Regions from separate parts of the Homo sapiens genome. Here all the other regions are linked to region 1. Evidence: promoter capture Hi-C in 16 types of primary human blood cells and fetal thymus (Javierre and others, 2016). All regions are on one chromosome and are shown on one strand. Each heading gives the region's core, a stretch centred on a gene start or on the middle of the fragment in contact. The rest is flanking DNA. Distances are from core to core; before and after follow the strand shown. Region 1 holds the start of RHOBTB2 (Rho related BTB domain containing 2). Region 2 overlaps PIWIL2 (piwi like RNA-mediated gene silencing 2). Region 3 has its middle 11 kb from the start of PPP3CC.

Region 1 (2,854 bases), core at 1-2,500:
TTTGCATTTTCAGAGCACAAGATGGAGGAGTGGTGGAGGCGGTTCAGGTGGGTGGCAGGCTGGTCTGGGCTTTAAAAATTGTCCAGAGGTAACTGAGGAGATGAATCAAACCAGACTGAGCTGACTACTTAACACTAGCAGTCAAGATCATCCTGGCTGGGCATGGTGGCTCACGCCTGTAATCCTAGTACTTTGGGAGGCCAAGGCAGGCAGATCACCCGAGGTCAGGAGTTCGAGACCAGCCTGGCCAAGGTGGTGAAACCCCGTCTCTACCAAAAATACATAAATTAGCTGGGAATAGTGGCGTGCACTTGTAGTCCCAGCTACTCGGGAGGCTGAGGCAGAACTGCTTGAACCCAAGAGGCGGAGGTTGCAGTGAACCAAGATTGCACCACTGCACTCCAGCCTGGGCAACAGAGGGAGACTCAAAAAAAAAAAAAAAAAAAAAAGATTATCCTGATAAAACCAGCCTTGAATATGGAAAGTGTCTTCTAGGGACCCCTCAGGTTATAGATGTTATACCTTAGAATCTCTCTATTTTACAGAGGGGTAAATTGAGGCAGAAAACCCAAAGAAGGCTTAGGGACGATTTTCGAGGCTACTCACTTCATGGTGTTTCTTTCAGAGATTAGCAGCTATTACTGAACTCCAGGAGGCAACAGGAGGGGGATGGGATGGAGGTGGGGACCCGCTGAAGAAGGCCTAGGTGGGAGACAGGTAACGTGGTACAGGTACCCACCCCACAACTCATTAAGGGCCATGGAGGGAGGAAGGCTCTCAAGTGCCACGAAAATTCCCAAAGCAGCAGAGGGCTTGTATGGAAACGCCGGTTATTCGTCCCTACCCGGCCCCCGCCCCCCGCCCCCCCGACTGCCCCTGCCGTCGCCTCCCCGTGGGCAAGTGGTGGGGGCCTGGGCTTACAACCACACGTTCTCCTCCAACTAGCATCCCTTCCAGGGTGCACTAGGATGCCTCTCAGAGGTTCTCCCCCGCCTCCCGAAGGAAAGGGGAAAACCCCGTGGGCGTCCGGAGAGCCTTTGCGCCTCGCCAGGTGGAGGGACCGGCGCCACCCAGACCCGCGAGCCGAGACCCTCCCCGCGGCGTCGCTGCGGGAGGGGCGGAAGAGCGCGGGCGGTGGGCGGGAGCGGTGCTGCGAGGCGGGATCTGCGGGGCGTCCAATCCCCTTCTTCCCCCGCCCGCCCCCTCCCCGCCCCCCGAACGCTTTCCACCAACTGCGCGCGGCAGTGGGCGGGGCCCGTCACGGCTGTCGTCTTGGGTGCGATTTTTTTCTCCTCCTTTTTTTACCCTCCCGTTTTTTTCTTTTCTTTTTTTTTTCCCTATCCTTTTTTTGTGAATGAAAAAAGGAGGTCGCGAGCGGTACCTGGGACTGCAGCGCCAGGCGTCTTCGCGGCAGCGCCTTCGCCGCGGGCCCGGGCGCGTAGCGGCGGCGGCCTCGCCCCTCTCCCGGCGCCCCTGCGCGCCGCCCGCTGCCTCCGCAGCCCGGCTCCGCGCGCCGCCGTGACATTGGGCGCCTGGCGCGCGGGGCGATGCTGATCCGGAAGGGGCAGCGGCTGCAGTGCAGCGCGCGCGTCCGCTCCTGGGCCCACGTCCGGCCTGGGCTGCCCTGCCGGAGTTTCTGAGTGGCCGCGAGCTGGCCGGGAGGCTGGAGCCCAGCAGCAGCGCGGCGGCGCCGGCGTCGTCCCAACTTGCAGGCGCGGAGGGACCCCTGACATTTCACTAAAATGAGCGTGCTCAGCAGGAAGAGATGTGTTCCTCACGCTAGAAGCCACCCCGTCACATGTAGTGGTGTAAGTAGATGGCTGCTTGCGGTTATGGCGGGGTGGCCAGCAGCCCTTGCAGACGCGCCGCTCCGCCCTCCCTGCCCTGCCGCGCCCCTCGCTACGTTCCCCGGGCCCCGCTAGTCCCTGGGCTCTGGCTTCGGCTGCTGGGTACAGCGGGGCTGGAGCCTAATCCTTTCCGGTGTTTCTAGGGAAAGGAAGATGACTTGATTGCTTCGGCCTGTCGTGCCCCTCCCCCTTCTCGATGTTTAAAAATTTTTAAATTTCTATTTTGTGTGTGTGCAGAGTAGCGTGTCAGAAAAAAGGAAAAACGGTCCAGAGTGGTGGGAGTGATTCTGTTAAGAAAACAAACACAAAACAACAGTGGAATTGGGGTGTTTTGCTGGCGGTTCCGGAGCTGGTTCTTTGAACTCAACTCCATTGCAGTCTATGTAACTGAGTTCTGTGAAACTACTGGGGAGATCTTTGGCGGTGTTTGGTGATGTGTCCACATTTTAGGTTTGAGGGGGCTTATCTGTGTTTAGGCTTGCATTTCTTTAATCTGACCATTCAGGGTCCCTTTGGGCCTTGCTTTCTGTTGGATCTGCACGGGGCTTCTTGCAATGCCAGCGACCCCCGTGGGAGCCTCCCCGAATTAGGAGTCCACTCTCTCTTTGTTCTTCTCCTTCCAATTCTCCATTCAATCCATCTCCCTTGATTTTACCTTCATTTTCAGGATTTTCCTCCCATTCCCATTTTGTAAGATGATGTGGGATACTGGTTGCTAGGAGACAAGCCAGGCTCCCAGGGAGATTCTGTTGTTTCCTTGACAACCAGACTAGGGCAGCCACAGATGAACAAGCCTCCTATCAGCTGTGGGAGGGAAAGGGGCCCTTTCTGAGCTCTGCAAAGAGTGTGTGTAGGGGTGTGGGGGTGGGACTGGGAGAGCACGAGGTTTGTAGCTAATTTCAGCACACCTTGGGTTTTGGCTTGCACCAAGTACAAAGAGCTGGGAGAGCGGTGGGCAGGAGGCTGTTTTTGGAGGGGCACAGGGATCATGGGACAGGGATGGAAGG
Region 2 (2,854 bases), core at 161-2,660, 720 kb before region 1:
TTCATGTCAGATCCAACTGGTATAACAGTAGTAGACATTCAAGACTGCCACAGGAAAACAGTAGCAGGTTACACAAACCTCTGATACTCATAAATGATCCAGCTTTTTTGAAATGTATTAACCAGTACACTTGTTCTCTCTTGCCTTGAATATGCAGAAAATAGAAAAATGGAAAAGTTCTGTTGCATTTTGTTATACTGTTTATCAAATCAAAATGGAAAAATTAACTCTGTTCTGTTGCATTTTGTTATACTGTTTATCAAATCAAAATGGAAAAGTTAATTCTGTTCTGTTGCATTTTGTTATACTGTACACATCAAATCATGGGCCATAACTGTAACTGTGCTTTAAGACCTAATATTACATAGTTACAGGTATTTTTTAAAGTTTATAAAATGTTTCCCTTTATTCTTATAACATGTATAGAATTTGAAGATGATTTTATTATATACCAAGACTAAGAAAGCCCTTGTTTCTGGGGTTTTAAACTACCTCTTAGAACTTTATTCTTTGACTTTCCACAGGAGTCTGTGGGTTTGGTCTCCATGTTCCGAGGCCTGGGCATTGAAACAGTTTCTAAGACCCCTCTGAAACGGGAAATGCTTCCATCAGGTATGTGGAAAACTAACTTGAGAAATTTGGTGGTATGTATGATTGGTTTCTTCTAAAATCCAAATGGTTTATTTTCAGAAACGTAACTGTGCTTTTTTTAAAAAAAAAAACTATACTTTAAAACACGTTTAAGTCATAGTCATTGCTGGGGTTCGGTTCTTTCTTTCAGGTAGAGGCATTTTAGGTCGAGGCTTGTCTGCTAATCTGGTACGCAAGGACAGGGAGGAACTCTCTCCCACTTTTTGGGATCCAAAAGTGTTGGCGGCTGGGGACAGCAAGATGGCAGAGACCTCCGTTGGTTGGAGTAGGTGGGTAAAGTTACCCTCTCAGGTAACTATCAAATTCAGATGGAATATCTCTGTAAGTTCAGAGAGCAACTCTAAGAAGAGTTGTGTCATCTCATAATCAATGTCTGGTTTTATATTAAAGAATGCATATTTCTCAAGAGTAGTCAGCAGCTGTTAACACAGCTAGGCATTGGAAAAGGGTAAGAAGTAGTTCTCCACTGGGCTGTTCAAAAATTCATTTGTCCTCTTAAAAAATTACCCTGATCATGGTGATTTTTTTTTTTTTTTTTTTTTTGAGATGAAGTTTTGCTCTGTCTCCCAAGCTGGAGTGCAATGCCTCAATCTTGGCTCACTGCAACCTCCGCCTCCCAGGTTCAAGCAATTCTCCTGCCTCAGCCTCCCAGGTGTCTGGGACTACAGGCATGTGGCACCATACCCAACTAATTTTTTGTATTTTTAGTAGAGACGAGGTTTCACTGTGTTCGCCAGGCTGGTCTTGAGCTCCTGACCTCAGGCAGTCCACCCACCTCGGCCTCCCAAAGTGCTGAGATTACAGGCATGAGCCCCACTGTGCGTGGACTTTTTTTTTTTTTTTTTTTTTTAAGGGATGGGGTCTCACTGTGTTGACCGGGCTGGAATGCAGTGGGGCAATCTTGGCTCACTGCAACCTCCACCTCCCAGGTTCAAGCGATTCTCCTGCCTCAGTGTGCCGAGTAGCTGGGACTACAGGTGTGCGCCACCACACCCGGCTTTTTTTTTTTTTTTTTTTTTTTTTTTGGAGACAGTCTCACTCTGTCACCAGGCTGGAGTGCAGTGGCACGATCTTGGCTCACTGCAACCTCCGCCTCACACCCAGCTAATTTTTGTATTTTTAGTAGAGACGGGGTTTCATCTTATTAGCCAGGTTGGTCTCAAACTCCTGACATCAGGTAATCCTCCCGCCTTGGCTTCCCAGAGAGCTGGGATTATAGGCGTGAGCCCCTGCACGCAGCCGTGGTGATTCTTTAATAACGTTGAGTCAAACTTTCTCCTCTATTCTGCTATGGAAGATGGCTCTGACAGTCAATAGCAGTTGGTGAATGAGTCATGGTGGCATATGTTGTGTTTTTTTTTTGAAATTCGTTCTATCTCTGTCACCCAGGCTTTAGTGCAGTGGTGTGATCTCAGCTCACTGCAGCCTCGACCTCCCAGGCTGAAGTGATCCTCCCACCTCAGCCACCCGAGTAGCTGGGACTACAGTTATGAGCCACCATACCTGGCTAATTTTTGTATTTTTTATAGTGCGGGGTCTCACTGTATTGTTTAGGCTGGTCTTGAACTCCTGGGCTCAAGCAGTCTCCCCACCTTAGCTTCCCAAAGTGCTAGGGTTACAGGCGTGAGCCACTGTGCCTGGCCTTGGCATATGTAGTTTGAGAGAATTTGAAACTTGGATCCCTTTTGCTGTCTCCTCCAGGAAGAGATTGTGGAGTTGGGGGAATAATCTGGATGGGACATAGCTATTATAAAAAACCCTGATTTGCCTCTCTCTCCACATTTCAGGACGCTTGGAAGAGGGAGTTCAGATGCGTCTTTATTACCACTGGGAAGAGCAGCAGGTGGTATCAGCAGAGAAGTGGACAAGCCTCCCTGTACCTTCAGCACACCGTCCCGGGGTCCCCCGCAGCTGTCATCACCACCAGCTCTGCCCCAGTCTCCCCTGCACTCTCCAGATCGCCCTCTGGTCCTGACTGTGGAACACAAGGAAAAGTAAGTCAGGAGCACTGCCTTCTCTACTTAGTAATGATCGTGAAAACTCTGCATTTTGGCTCGTGTGTAGTATTGTAAAATCTGTTTGTGTTGGGTCCTCCCTGGGTAATAATACTGCGGGGTGTTTTGTTTTTTGCCAGTGGGAGATTGACAAAGAGATAGGACAATTTATTTTTTCTTCTTTTTGAGACGGAGTCTCACTCTGTCGC
Region 3 (2,854 bases), core at 159-2,658, 570 kb before region 1:
AGTCTCACTCCATTGCCCAGGCTGTAGTGCCGTGGTACGATCTCAGCTCACTGCAACCTCTGCCTCCCGGGTTCAAGCGATTCTCCTGCCTCACCCTCCTGAGTAGCTGGGATTACAGGCGCATGCCACCACACCCACCTAATTTTTGTATTTTTGGTAGAGACAGGGTTTCACCATGTTGGCCAGGCTGGTCTCGATCTCTTGACCTTGTGATCCGCCCAGCCTGGCCTCCCAAAGTGCTGGGATTACAGGCATGAGCCACTGCGCCAGGCCAGTTCATGTGTTCTTTTAACATTTTGTTTGAAATGGAGGCTGACTGCATGGAAGACTGCCTTGATCTAACTGATGATTTTGTTTTTTCACTGAAAAACTTAAAGCAGCCTTGTAAACTAGTTTAAATGGGAGAATCCTTGGAAAAGTGTTGATGTTTGGTAATTTTTGAGCAAACGAAGGTAAGAACCAATGCAAACTTACTTCCCCAGAGTTCTGCATTGTGTCTTTGTCTTGAAAAAGAACACAGAATGGCCAGGCGTGGTGGCTCACGCCTGTAATCCTAGCACTTTGGGAGGCCGAGGCGGGTGGATCGCAAGGTCAGGAGATCGAGACCATCCTGGCTAACACGGTGAAACCCCGTCTCTACTAAAAATACAAAAAATTGGCTGGGCGTGGTGGCGGGCACCTGTGGTCCCAGCTACTCGGGAGGCTGAGGCAGGAGAATGGCATGAACCCGGGAGGCAGAGCTTGCAGTGAGCCAAGATCTCACCACTGCACTCCAGCCTGGGCGACAGAGCCAGACTCCGTCTCAAAAACAAACAAACAAAAAAAGAACACAGGATTTTGCATCCATAGGAATGGATTCATGTCAATTCCATCATTGACTATCTGTGTGATCTCTAACATGTTTAACCTCTCTGCACCTCAATATTTTTATGAAGTAGAAATTATAATTTTATACTGCCTACCTTATAAGGTAGGTATAAGTATAATGAGAAGTAAATATGCAAAATGTTTTAGAAATTAAAGCTCTGTACTAGTAGTAATTAACATTTTGTTCTTTGGATTCCTTTGAGAATCTGAAAAATACATGATTGCTCATACACACTCATAGCATGTGTAAATATACTCCAACCTTTAATTTCATTTATAATTGGGAGCAGCATGGGGATGGGAGGTAGACGAGAAGGGAATGATCTCCTGAAGCCCCTGTGCCCCAGGTGAAAAACTTCTGCTGCAGACAAGAGTAAGATGAAATCCATTCATTCAACAAATTGTTGAGCTCCAACTCTGCCAAGCTTGGCATGACATAGCAGTGAAAGATCCTTCCCTTAAGGAGTGAGGGGAAATAAACAAAAACCAAGTGCTACAGATAAATTAACACGGGGGAGTGAGGTAGGGAATGGGCAGACAGGGATAGAGGTGATCAGGAAAGGGCTCTAACCAGATGACATCTGAGTTGAGCTTTGTGACTGTAGAAGAATGTTCTAAGCCAAAGGGCCGGCCAACGCAAGAATGCTGAGACAGAAATAAGCTTCATCTATTTGAGGCCAGTATGTGTAAACAGCAGAAACAAGGCCAGTCTGTCTGGACTGCAGCAGACATGAGGGAAGAAGGTTGGTGGGAGCTCAAAGTTGACAGGAGTCAGACCACTTCGGGAAAGGAGAAGACATTTGTTTTTGTTTGTTTGTTTTAGAGATGGGGTCAGAGGTCACTGCAGCTTCAAACTCCTGGACTCAAGAGATCCTCCCACCTACCTCAACCAGCCTGGCTAATTTAATTTTTTTTTAGAGACGGGGTCTCACTAAGTTGCCCAGTCTGGTCTCCAAGTCCTGGGCTCAAGTAATCCTGCTGCCTCAGCCTCCCAGAGTGCTGGGATTACAGGCGTGGGCCATCGCCCTTAGACCACAAGAGAGTTTTAACCAGAGGAATGACAAATCAGTTTTATGCTTTAAGTTTAGAAAGATCTGCTGTATAGGAAAATAGACGGTAGGGGGAGGAAGTTGACAGGATACAGTGTGTGGAAAGGCGTCCCTGATTCTAAATTTTTGGTCCAAGCAACTTGAATGCCAGTGCTGTTTACCTTGGTATCTTACCTGTGGAACCACCAAATGTGTTATGTACTGGTTGCCACCATTTTCTCCTGTTCTGCAATGATGCAAACAACAACAGTCACAAGCAGGAAGTGACGGCAGCTTTGGGGCTCCCAATTCTTTTTTTTTCGTTTTGGAGACAGGGTCTTGCTCTGTCGTCCAGGCTGGAGTGCAGTGGTGTGATCTCGGCTCGCTGCAAACTCCACCTCCTGGGTTCAAGCCATTCTCTTGTTTCAGCCTCCTGTGTAGTTGGGATTACAAGCCTGTGCCATCATGCCCAGCTAATCGTTGTGTTTTTAGTAGAAACAAGGTTTTACCATGTTGGCCAGGCTGGTCTTTAACTCCTGGCCTCAAGTAATCCGCCCATCTCGGCCTCCCAAAGTGCTGGGATTATAGGGGCGAGCTGCCGCAGCCGGTCTGGGACTCCCAATTCCCTCTTTTTTTTTTTTTTTTGATGGAGTCTCCCTCTGTTGCCCAGGCTGGAGTGCAGTGGCGTGATCTCAGCTCATTGCAACCTCTGCCTCCTGGGTTCAAACAATTCTCCTGCCTCAGCCTCCTGAGTAGCTGGGACTACAGGCACGTGCCACCACACCTGGCTAATTTTTTGTATTTTTAGTAGAGACAGGGTTTCACTGTGTTAGCCAGGATAGTCTCGATCGCCTGACCTCATGATCCACCTGCCTCAGCCTCCCAAAGTGCTGGGATTACAGACGTGAGCCACCGTGCCTGGCCTATATAGTGCTTTTCATATAAAATTGCAGATTATA

Evidence for each region. The method cuts DNA at HindIII sites, captures the fragments that hold promoters and counts their contacts. A CHiCAGO score of 5 or more calls a contact.
Region 2: a contact is called between a fragment that was not itself captured here and the fragment with the promoter of RHOBTB2 in region 1, in 1 of 17 cell types (total CD4 T cells). The highest score is 5.0, in total CD4 T cells.
Region 3: a fragment that was not itself captured here is called in contact with the fragment with the promoter of RHOBTB2 in region 1 in 1 of 17 cell types (non-activated CD4 T cells); the score reaches 5.8 in non-activated CD4 T cells.

What each region holds. Positions count from the first base shown.
Region 1 is chr8:22,998,298-23,001,151 of GRCh38, forward strand. It overlaps RHOBTB2 (Rho related BTB domain containing 2), which reads left to right and starts at 1,251. Exons shown (of 10, transcript NM_015178.3): 1 at 1,251-1,808. RHOBTB2-AS1 (RHOBTB2 antisense RNA 1) reads right to left here and starts at 1,508. Exons shown (of 2, transcript XR_007060857.1): 1 at 1,382-1,508. RefSeq lists silencers at 931-1,190, 1,411-1,580, 1,911-1,960. The HindIII fragment of the contact is 10,673 bases long and covers 1-2,854 here.
Region 2 is chr8:22,280,596-22,283,449 of GRCh38, forward strand. PIWIL2 (piwi like RNA-mediated gene silencing 2) reads left to right here. Exons shown (of 23, transcript NM_018068.5): 3 at 525-612; 4 at 782-920; 5 at 2,439-2,645. Among named protein-coding and RNA genes, the nearest start is that of PIWIL2, 6.7 kb to the left of the region's middle. The HindIII fragment of the contact is 5,060 bases long and covers 1-2,854 here.
Region 3 is chr8:22,428,468-22,431,321 of GRCh38, forward strand. It overlaps a transcript of SLC39A14 not described here. Among named protein-coding and RNA genes, the nearest start is that of PPP3CC, 11 kb to the right of the region's middle. The HindIII fragment of the contact is 236 bases long and covers 1,291-1,526 here.